4 separate regions of the Homo sapiens genome follow, and all the other regions are linked to region 2. Evidence: promoter capture Hi-C in 16 types of primary human blood cells and fetal thymus (Javierre and others, 2016). All regions are on one chromosome and are shown on one strand. Each heading gives the region's core, a stretch centred on a gene start or on the middle of the fragment in contact. The rest is flanking DNA. Distances are from core to core; before and after follow the strand shown. Region 1 has its middle 9.3 kb from the start of BNIP2. Region 2 holds the start of FOXB1 (forkhead box B1). Region 3 has its middle 43 kb from the start of BNIP2. Region 4 has its middle 72 kb from the start of ANXA2.

What was found. Contacts are between HindIII fragments. The CHiCAGO score rates a contact against its expected background, and 5 or more counts as called.
Region 1: a fragment that was not itself captured here is called in contact with the fragment with the promoter of FOXB1 in region 2 in 4 of 17 cell types (fetal thymus, M1 macrophages, megakaryocytes and 1 more); the score reaches 5.5 in fetal thymus.
Region 3: a fragment that was not itself captured here is called in contact with the fragment with the promoter of FOXB1 in region 2 in 1 of 17 cell types (non-activated CD4 T cells); the score reaches 5.1 in non-activated CD4 T cells.
Region 4: a contact is called between a fragment that was not itself captured here and the fragment with the promoter of FOXB1 in region 2, in 7 of 17 cell types (M1 macrophages, M0 macrophages, fetal thymus and 4 more). The highest score is 6.6, in M1 macrophages.

Annotation. Positions count from the first base shown.
Region 1 is chr15:59,697,235-59,699,934 of GRCh38, reverse strand. No RefSeq gene overlaps it. Among named protein-coding and RNA genes, the nearest start is that of BNIP2, 9.3 kb to the right of the region's middle. The HindIII fragment of the contact is 2,342 bases long and covers 146-2,487 here.
Region 2 is chr15:60,002,894-60,005,593 of GRCh38, reverse strand. FOXB1 (forkhead box B1) reads right to left here and starts at 1,283. Exons shown (of 2, transcript NM_012182.3): 1 at 951-1,283; 2 at 1-687. The coding sequence starts at 630. RefSeq lists an enhancer at 1,087-1,602. The HindIII fragment of the contact is 10,028 bases long and covers 1-2,700 here.
Region 3 is chr15:59,731,125-59,733,824 of GRCh38, reverse strand. No RefSeq gene overlaps it. Among named protein-coding and RNA genes, the nearest start is that of BNIP2, 43 kb to the right of the region's middle. The HindIII fragment of the contact is 2,997 bases long and covers 1-2,700 here.
Region 4 is chr15:60,324,665-60,327,364 of GRCh38, reverse strand. No RefSeq gene overlaps it. Among named protein-coding and RNA genes, the nearest start is that of ANXA2, 72 kb to the left of the region's middle. The HindIII fragment of the contact is 1,656 bases long and covers 448-2,103 here.

The sequences.
Region 1 (2,700 bases), core at 67-2,566, 310 kb after region 2:
ATGAGTAATCTGCTAAGGAATTAGTATTCCACTAAAAAAAAAGAATCTAGATGTTAGATATTAAGGATCTTTTAAAGAAGATAATTCATACTAAACTTCGCATTTCATTTCTCCCTATTATGTATATACCTGAAATTGGAAAGCTTTCTTCTTTTTCCTAGTAAGTACAATTTGGTGTTTTAGCAATTGTATTAGGAGAAGGTGTTTCTCCTTCTTTATCATAAAGGAACCACATAAATGAGAAATAATGTTACAATTTTAATATTTTCTTCTCAGTTATACTGAAATTCATTTTTAAAACTCAGTACATTTTTATCAATTTACAGAGTTCCCATGTTTCAAAATACAAACAATAACCTAGATTCTCTCAGCTGAGTAAGTTACTTTTAGGATGTAAACTATTTTTGGAAATATACTTGTAGAACATTTACCCATTGCAACAGTGAATTAGATGCCACCTTTTAATTTTTATATTTGTATTAAATAAAAATGCATGTGCCTTACATAGAGCCATATCAGTGCTTTGTTTTGTTAAATGTAATAAAATTTCCAATTGACCCAACAATTACTTGTGTATTTTGAAATGCATTTGTTTTCTCTAAACAAATAAGATTGCACTTTGACTCTAAAGATGCAGAATGAATGATTAATGCTTTGATGAAGGACAGTGTTATATCTAATTTTGTGTTAATCTGGATAAGGAGACTGAAACTGACCGCAAAACAGTTAGCTTTAGTTGATCAATTCTTACTTCCACTTACCCACCCCAAAAATAATTTAAAAAACATTATCACTACTAAAATTATCAATCAATCAAACAAACTGCTTTTTTCTAATTGGAGGCTATTGCTTATTCATGTTTTTCTAAATATAGTTGATCACAGTGTTACTAACATTTCATATCCTGAAGAACAGAAGAAAGAGCGAAATCTACTTCCCTCATCAAGATTAATCTTTACTTTAATTATAAACCAAGCATGCAGATACTATGTATTAATACTTTTGCAAGAGCATTAATTATTTCAGTGAAGAATCATTTTTGTAATGACCCCTGTTGAGTGTAGAAGATCTTGTATACTATTCAGTGTAGAGGATTCAGTGTACATGCATCACTGTCCATCAGCTACTTTCCAAATGGCGACCATGATAGTAACCAAGTGGTTGCTATGATTTTGCCAAAGTTTATGATTTTATAATATAAAATGTATATCCTCAGATAATTTTAAACTCATATTTGTAAGTTTTTATGACTGCAGAAATATCCTCACAAAGGACTTGAATATGAACTCTTAAGATTTCTTCACACTGGCCAGGCGCGGTGGCTCACACCTGTAATCCCAGCACTTTGGGAGGCCGAGGTGGGCTGATTACCTGAGAACAGGAGTTCCAGGCCAGCCTGGCCAACTTGGTGAAACCCCATCTCCACTAAAAATACAAAAATTAGCCTGACGCAGTGGCGTGCCTGTAGTCCCAGCTACTCGGGAGGCTGATGCAGGAGAATTGCTTGAACCTGGGAGGCGGAGGTTGCAGTGAGCTGAGATTGTGCCATTGCACTCCAGCCTGGGTGACAGAGTGAGACCCTGTCTCAAAAAAAAAAAAAAAAAAAAACAATTTCTTCACACTATTGGTTTTGATGAGTCATTTAAGCTAGTGTCAGCCTTTCTCAACTTCTGTTGGATGAAATGCACACCCCCTCCTCCTCAGCAAACACGACTATGTCCATATCTGAACGCTCAGTCTCACTTCACTGCAAATTATAACCTAGCTATTTCTTTGAATGAGTTGAATCTCTAAAGTTCTGTGCAATAAAATCCTCTGACAACTAAGCCTAGTTTTTCCCTTGAATGGCTATAATCTAATTGTATATGGAAGTATTTCTTTTTTATTTTTTTGAAATGGAGTTCCACTCTTGTTGCCCAGGCTGAAGTGCAATGGCACAATCTTAGCTCACCGCAACCTCTGTCTCCCAGGTTCAAGCGATTCTCCTGCCTCAGCATCCCGAGTAGCTGGGAATACAGGCATGCACCAGCATGCCCGGCTAATTTTTTTGTATTTTTAGTAGAGACAGGGTTTTTCCATGTTGGTCAGACTGGTCTCAAACTCTCAACCTCAGGCCTCCCAAAGTGCCGGGATTACAAGCGTGAGCCACTGCGCCCAGCCGGATGGAAGTATTTCCTAGAAATGTATATTGCTACTTCTCTCTTGCACACTCTGGGATGTGGAAGCATCACACAACGGTGATGTGTAATTGTGTACAGTCCAATTTGATTTTCTGAAATTGGGAAGCACAAATTCTCTCTGGAACAATTTCTTTGACTGGTTCACTGTAGAAAGGAAACTTGTCACCATGCCAAAGACAAAACTGCTGCTGGGTTTAGTTTTGAATTTTATAAAGTGAACAAGTGAAAAATATATACACATTCATTTCAACTCAAGTTATGAATTATTAAATGAATATATAATTTTATCCAGTTTTACCCTCAAGCTTAACCAGCAAAGACATCTTCAGCCCATGTAAAAAGGTTACTTCATGTTTTTTTTGAAAATTATGAGCAAGCTGCCAAACATCACTGAATTTATATGCTTGTAAGTGAGAATAACAATCTGTCTATAAAATCCTACAGTGAAAAGTAAAGCAGCATGCGAGTTTTGTGCAATGTATCTTTTATCTTCTAAAATTTGAAATTACACAAGCATTTC
Region 2 (2,700 bases), core at 34-2,533:
CGAGCTGCCCATGGTAGTCAACTGGTTGGGGAGCGGGTAGGCAGCGGGCACCGGCTGCATGGCGGAGAAGGCCAGCCCCCCAGGCATCTTGTATTCCCGCGCGATGATGTTCTCGATGGCGAAGGGGTGCTTGAAGCCCGAGGGCTGCGCCACGCCGCCCAAGTTGTAGGCGGCGGCGGGCATCTGTGGCAGGTGCGTGCCCGAGGCCGCCAGCGCGCTGAGCCGCAGCTTGGCCTGCTGCTGCAGGTACTGCGCCGCGTCGGCTGGCTTGCTGGGCGCCAGGTGGTCGGACTTAAGCACCTTGAAGCGCTTGCGGCGCCGCAGGAAGCTGCCGTTCTCGAACATGTCCCCGCAGCTTGGGTGCAGCGCCCAGAAGCTGCCCTTGCCTGGCTGGTCCGGCCGCCGCGGGATCTTGATGAAGCAGTCGTTGAAGGAGAGGTTGTGGCGCAGACTGTTCTGCCAGCGCTGCGTGTTCTCCCTGTAGTAGGGGAAGCGGTCCATGATGAACTTGTAGATCTCGCTCAGCGGCAGCATCTTCTCGGGAGAGCTCTGGATGGCCATAGCGGTCAGCGAGATGTACGAGTAGGGCGGCTTCTGGTCGCTGTACGTGTTGCGGCCGGGCCGAGGCATCTTCTTCCTCGCCCTCTTCTTGCTCTGGGTCCGCGCGGGCCGGCGGACTGCTCGGATCTGGGAAGGGGGTGGGTAATAGGGAAAGGTAGCATGGATGCACAGAGACACCGGCGGGGTCAGCCAGACCGAGTAACAGACTTCGGGGGTCGGGGGTGGGGCCTGCGGCGCTCGATCAGCCAGCGCCCGGACTCTTTCGCCAGCAACTTTGCGGGCTTAGTGGGCGCGGGAGGGGAAGCCGGCGAACGGCGCGAGGATAGCCGGGAAGTAAGTCGGTACTGGGGCCAGAATAGGGGGCAGGGACGGAACAGAGAGCTGCTCACCTTAAAGTTGCTTCAAGTTGCGCGTCCGCATCCGGGAGGACGCCGCTGCGCGCCGCTTCTCTCTCGGCGCGCACTCGACGCGCACTCCGCGCGCAGCGTCCGGGTCCGGTTGGACTCGGCGCGAACCTGGGCTCTTGAGCTCAGCCCCGCAGCGTCCCGTGCCGCCCGGTCCGCGACGCTCCTGGAGCGTCCTGCGGGCGGCCGAGCTCGGCTGCGGAGTCCCGGCGCGGATGGTGGCAGCGACGTGTTAGGGCTCCGGAGGGCGCTGCTGTGGGCTCCGCGTCTCCGCTGAGCTAGGTGGCTGCCTCCATGTCCTCCCTCGAACCATCTGATAGTTTTAAGCGGTGACAGGAGCAGAAAAGACCCCTGTAGCGGCGCTTCATTAATGTGCCACTTCTTAGCTATCATATGACAATCGCCTTGGGAGGAGGAGGAAGAGGAGGGGGAGCGGGGGCTGCAGAGGGAGGGGACTGAGCGAGAAGGGAGAGCCCGGCCAGCTCTGGTTTCTTTCACACCTATTTACATGGACACCTTGGCCAATAGGAATCACTTCCAGCTCAAGACTGGGCGAGGGGGAAGAGCCTCGGCCACTGGGCAGGCAGCTGGACGCGCCGGCCGGTGTGCGCCGTGTGAAGGTATGAGGAAGCGGCCGCCGCGGAAGAGGGAGCCAGGCGACCACTCACGTTCACAGATGGAGCAGCCGCGCGGATGATGTTTGACATGGAAATTGCTTGGCTGGGGTATTCTGTTTCCTCTGCGTTGTATCCGGTTTGTATCGTTAGGTAACTTTAGGCACGGCTTTCCCCTGAAGCCGACCCTTTTCCTGCGCTTAGCACTACCCGGGGTTGGTTGCATGGGTTATAATAATGAAAACACACCCTTGCCCCCCAGTCCCCGGAGAGTTAGGTCGAAATTTGACTTGACTTTCCTATGCAGCTGCTTCAGCTTTGTATAGTTAGTGTGTAGCTTTGAAAAAGTGATGGGGTTTACAAATACTTTCAAAATGTGATTGGACATCCCCATGTAAGAACCCATTTTGAATGTAACTGTATTGACCAAATTTTTAAAAATTAAAATAGTGTATCTGGGCGAAGAGTCCAGGTATTTGCTTTAAAAGTCCTCCGGGAATTTGGTTGGACACAGGATGGAGGCTCAGGAGCTGTTGGGGCAAATGTTGTGCGGACCTGGGGAGGGCCTGAGTTTGTTTGACACAGTTTATCACCAGGTAAGCCTCAGGGGCTCTCGCTTTTCCCAGGTGGTTTGAAACTTTAGGACTCAGGCACATCCTGGAAGTTTTCATTTTACACCCGGAACTCCCCTTCCCAGCCCTCCCACCCCCCCAACCTCCCACCCCCCATCCCCCAACTGCCGCTTTTTTTGGTATGGAGAACTTATTTAGGATTTAGAGTGTAGCAAAAGCCGCCTGCGATCCCACTAAGACAGCAGTATCTTCTACAACTTGGGGAAAGAACCATAGAGTTTTCCTTCTTGGGGAGCGGGGAATGTGCCTTGGGTCACTCCGCCTGGTGCGAGCAGCAGGCTCCCTTCGGTTCGGATTCGCCTTGGAAGGGTTAAATGAATCATTATTATTATTATCATTATCCTCATCGTCGTCGCTGCCGTCATCATCATCATCATCAAATTGCTATGAAATAAATAGTGAGTCGACCCCGCCTGCATGCACGCACTCTATAAGTACACACCAGGAGTTCCCACGGGTTTCTGCACATTCTCCGACCTTTAAGGTTTT
Region 3 (2,700 bases), core at 187-2,686, 270 kb after region 2:
TCTTGAGTAATGCTCCCCACAAACTAGATAACTTAACTTATTTTATGCAGCCATAACAAAATACCTGAGACTGGGTAATTAATGAAGAACCGATATTTATTTCTTACAGTTCTAGGGGCTGGGAAGTCCAAGGTTGAGGGGCTTTCATTTGGTGAGGGCCTTCCTGCTGCATCATTCCATGGTGGAAGGCAGAAAGGCAAGAGAGTGCAAGCGAGCAAGACAGGGTCAAACTCATTTTTATAACAAACCCACTCTCACAATAACAAGCCCTAACCCTCTTAAAAGTCATGAGACCTAAGCAGTTCTTAAAGTTCTCACCTCTCAACACTGATGCATTAGGGATTAAGTTGCCAACACGTAAACTGTGGGAGACGTTTAAATCATAGCACCAGATGTGTTCTTTGCTCTCATAGCACCCTCTGTCTTTCTTTTTTGCATCTATCACAGTTTAGAATTGCATATAAAATAGTGCAATTGTTCTTCTATTATCCCCACTAGACTGGCAACACCTTGAAGGCAGAAACTGTGTTTTGGCTCCCTTTGTGTCGTCAGTTCATAGCACAAAGCCTAGACATATAAGGTGCTAAGTAAATACTTGCTGAATTAAAAAAATGTGAACAAATGAATGAACGTAAGTGACTATGTTCTAGTCAGAAAGGGGTGAGAAAGCCCAGAAAACATTCAGATGGCACCATGTGTTGCACATTGTTTTTGAACCAGGGCCACGAATGCTGGCTGATCTCATCTCCTCTCCCCAGATGAGAGGCTGGGCTGATCAGTTCACATACAGATAAGTTCAAAGATTTGAAAGGCATGTCTGAGGAGCAATGAAAACTGACTTGCAGACCTTGCTGAGATCTCAATCCAAACTTAGATTTCCATGATTGAAATTCTCATAGCCACCTCCCCTGAATTGCACTCAACTTTTCAAAATGAGATTTTATGGGAACTGATTGTGATTAGATAAATGGGTGACTTCACTAATGTATAATACAATTTTCAATTACAGCATATGTATAATAATTTACATTTCTTGTTTGATGGTGTGGTATTTATGTGACATATTCTGAATGAGACCCGGCTGCTGTTTACATAATGATCTTGCTTTTCTCTTAGAGAAGATCTCGTTTTCAATTTTCTTTTTGTGCAGCAAGGTATTGTCATTCCAAGATAAACATTGTATATTATAGAATGTGCAGGTGAGAAATATCAATAAAGTAATAATCTAGATGGGTTTTAATAATTTTTATATATGCCACTGAATTAGGTAATAGAGTGGTTCACCTTTCATAAAATGTTGGAATAAAAATGTCCCTAAAATTATAGTAAATTTTTTGTGATCTACTGGCTCTATGATCACCCTTGTGGCAAAGTGCCATTGAATAGCAAAAATCAATGTTTTATTGAATATATTTCACCATTAACATAATAGTCATTGCCAGAGTGCTGCTCTGAAGCTGGAACAATATCACTGGAATATGTCTTTTTTCTGACCTTTAAGACTAGGTCTACCTGAAACAAAGGCTTTTATGCATTTAACCCCAAATGTCATTCTTCAATTTCTGGCTAGAGATGGTTGATGCATAAGAGATAAAATAACTCCCAGTGAAGAGCTTTCCAGGCTGGGCACAGTGGCTCATGCTTGTAATCCCAACACTTTGGGAGGCTGAGACAGGCAGATCTCTTGGGGTCAGCAGTTCAAGACCAGCCTGGCCAACATGGCAAAACCCTGTCTCTACAAAAAATACAAAAATTAGCCAGGTGTGGTAGTGGGCGCCTGTAATCCCAGCTACTCGGGGGGCTGAGACAGGAGAATCGCTGGAACCCAGGAGGCGGTGGTTGCAATGAGCCGAGATTGTGCCACTGCACTCCAGCCTGTGTAACAGAGCGAGACTCTGTCTCCAAAAAAAAAAAAAAAAAGAGCTTTCCAGATAGAAAACTATTCTTAAAATAGCAAGCTGGGGGATAGGAAAGAAGAGCACAAAGAAGCCAGGTAGTAGGATATAGTACCCATGGTTTTGAACCTAAGAAACCACATTTGCACAGAGATAGGGGCCAAGAAGGTACCTGCAGCCCTTCACCCTGCTTCAGCCAGAGCAGCTTTCCTTTAGGCATTTTTATATTAGTGTTCCCAGTAAGAATTCATTTAAAAAGGAGAAAAGGCTATTTTAAAAACTTTGCAAAACCACTTAATGGTGAAAAGAGCACTGTTCTAGAACTCAGCCCTCTGAGCTCCATTTCCCCATTTGTAAAATGAAGAGTTTGTATCTGACAGTCTCTAGCATTCACCTGTTCCACAATTCATACTGCCTTATTCCAGGCCAAATGCTAGTGTAGATATGGCTGTTATTTGGCATAACAACCTAATTATGCCATGTTATCAAACTGCATGCTTGCCTCCCTTTTAATGTAACAAAAGATGTAAAATATCCACGCATGGAACCAGCAATATATCAATGGCACTGGCTTCAGATATAAAATGCTCACTTTAACATGGATCGCTGGAAAATATTCAAATAGTCCTCATAATTTCTAGAGTACAGGGTGAAATACCATTCATTTCTCAAGATACATCTGCATTCAAATTAGCCCAACACTATATTAAGTTACAAATAAACCTACGATTTTACCATAATTAAGAAGCATTTCAGAATAATTTCAGATTGTGTTCTACTTATAACTTATTCTAGCAGTAAGCAG
Region 4 (2,700 bases), core at 26-2,525, 320 kb before region 2:
CTGTCCCTCCCATGGCCAGTTGAAGGACACCTGGGGAGAGATGCCACCTCATGAGGTAGACTTTCTCTGTTCCCAGATCAGTAAGGAGCATTGCCTTGCATTTGTGCATAATTTTTGTGTATTTTAAGAGTTCTTGTATATTTAAGAGCTCTCATGAATTCCTGTTTGCTTGAGTGAATGCATTTTAAGGTGTTTCTGGAGAATAGGAGAGGATACAAAATCTAACAAGATACCAAACTTTCAATCCTGAATTGCAACTTGTGTCAACATTGCGCTACTGTGGGTTTGTCAAAACCGCCCTTTAAAAAAAAGTGACTCTAAAGTTGTATTGATGACATTTGACCACAAGAGGACGCTCCAACAAAGCACCTCACAGCTCAAAAGTCTACGTCTCCTTTTCAAACATTTACATGCTGCAATTTCTGCCTGGTCTTATGATATAAAGCTTAATGCCACAAATATTGTTTCAAACTTTATGAAAAGAGTTTTTCTTTTTTTTAAAAAAAGAAGATTGGGAGCTATAGCAGTGAATCCTGAGCTCAAGGTAAACTATTTTCATTAGCTGGAGGTGCTTTATAATTTCTCCATCAGTTTTCAAAAAAGGGACAAGGACTTTAAGAACCTTTTCTTCCTTTAACAATCAAACGAAACAACACAAACTCAAAACGCTTTAAGAACATTTCAATTTCCAAACTAGACCTTTTATGGATCATTTTCCTAAGAGTTCTAAGTCTAGAAATGTGATTAAAGAAAACAAAAACAAACAAACAAACACAAACAAAAAAACATTTTCCAGTCTAGACGCAGCCATCAGCGAAAATGCTCCATTACCTGTTACCTCTTCTAGGATACAGATGTTTGAAAAAGAAAGTGGGCAAGAAGCTATGTGACGGTCTCTGAAGTAAATTAAAGCCCTGGACTGCATTTCCCTAGTAGTCAGATAAAACTTGAGGGCATAATTGCCAACAATGAACACCCTTTCCGTTTAACCAATCTTTACTGATAATAAAATAATTAGAATAATTTATGTGTCTGTGCTATTATTAACGTGGCTTTGCTTAAAGGAGATTCAGCTGGTTGTTCACGGACGTTAAGAGGGTCTCTCCTCCCACCTTCTGAGATGACATGTTTATACCCAGGCAGCACTTCTAAATTTTTAATAGAGAGGAAGAGATTCCATTTAATTAGGTAGAGTGACTTGTTTATATGCAGGTTATACATTTACGAGTTCTCATGAAGAACGGAAAATACCCATTGAGCAGCCTTTGAAGTTTCGCTTGTTTAAAGATAATTGTAAACCCAGCTCAATGGAAACAGCATCTCAGTCAATCAAGTGATTTGAGCATAGAGTAGAGGGAGTTAAATCCAGGTTAAATAATTGCACAAATCACATGTCGATCAATGTTCAAAGGATTTTTTTTCTCTCAAATCAAAGCTCTTCCATCTTACATTTGATTGGAGTATTGAAACTGGGTTATAGAAAAAAATGTTAAGGATGTAACAAGATTTAAAAATGTTAAGGATGTAACAAGATTTTTTTTTACTTAAAAATTATCCACCATTTATATAAAATCCTTTCTCTTTTTTCCTTTTGATTTTTACTTCATATATTCTATATAGCTTATTTTATTTGTGAATTAGGTAACACAAACATGTCACTGTCACAAAAGCATTTTTCTACATTCATAAATCCTTTCTGGAAATGAGAAATCATTTTTTTCTTAAACTCTGACCTAAGGTAAAAATTCCAAATATTTGCGTGCCTTGGATGGTATTGCAAAAAGGCCACCTAAACTAATGAGGTTTCTTGAATTGGTGTACAGAAATGAATTACAATGCTTAAGAAGTTGAAGAGATTTCTCGTGATTTTTAAAGTAATATTAATGATCGTATGGAATGAGAAATTGAGCTTTGTGTTATTACTATAGGATTAGTTTTTAGTTCCTGAAAGCTGGTCTATTTATAGGTATATAGGATGGAATTAAACTCTGAAAAGGTTAATTTTTAAAAAATGTTCTGTAGAAGGTCTATTTCCTATCACCTTTTATAAGTTTCCCTTTGAATTGTAGTTGCAATATGCATTTGGAGTGAGTCCAGGAAGCTTGAATAATAATGTAATCCCCGGGGGAGCCGCTCTTAGCAGAGTGGGTAGGATAAATGAAATGCTACATACAGATTCCTGACAATATATTCATCTTGATATTATCGCAGCTGATGGATTGTAGCAAGGCTGTTCCTAGGGCTTCCCTTTGCCATCTTCAGTGTCTTTATCATTTCAGTGCGAAAAAGAAAAACCCCATCACACAAAAGAAATAAAACATCGTTAATTGAAAAGTAGCACCTTAAAAATATTTGTGGTAGGAAAAATATTTGTTTTGCTGCAAGGAGAACAGAGAGTAGGGAATAAAAGACTAAAGAAGAGAGAAAAAGAAACCAGTGTCCTTTGCTGAGCTCGCTGGCCACATGTAAGGCTCTCAAACATTTTAACCGTTGCACATCATTTTCTTTTTCTTCTGTGTGCTTGTCTAATTTATTTTCATAAGAAAACTCTGTTCCTCTTGTGCGGAGCCAGCATAATGTCGCTGAAATCTCGGATGATGTGGTTTTAAGATCAAACAAGACTTAATAAGGTGGGATTTGTTTTCCTATTGACCTTCTTATTGCTTGGGTCCCCCTGACAAGCTTCGAAGTGAACGGGAG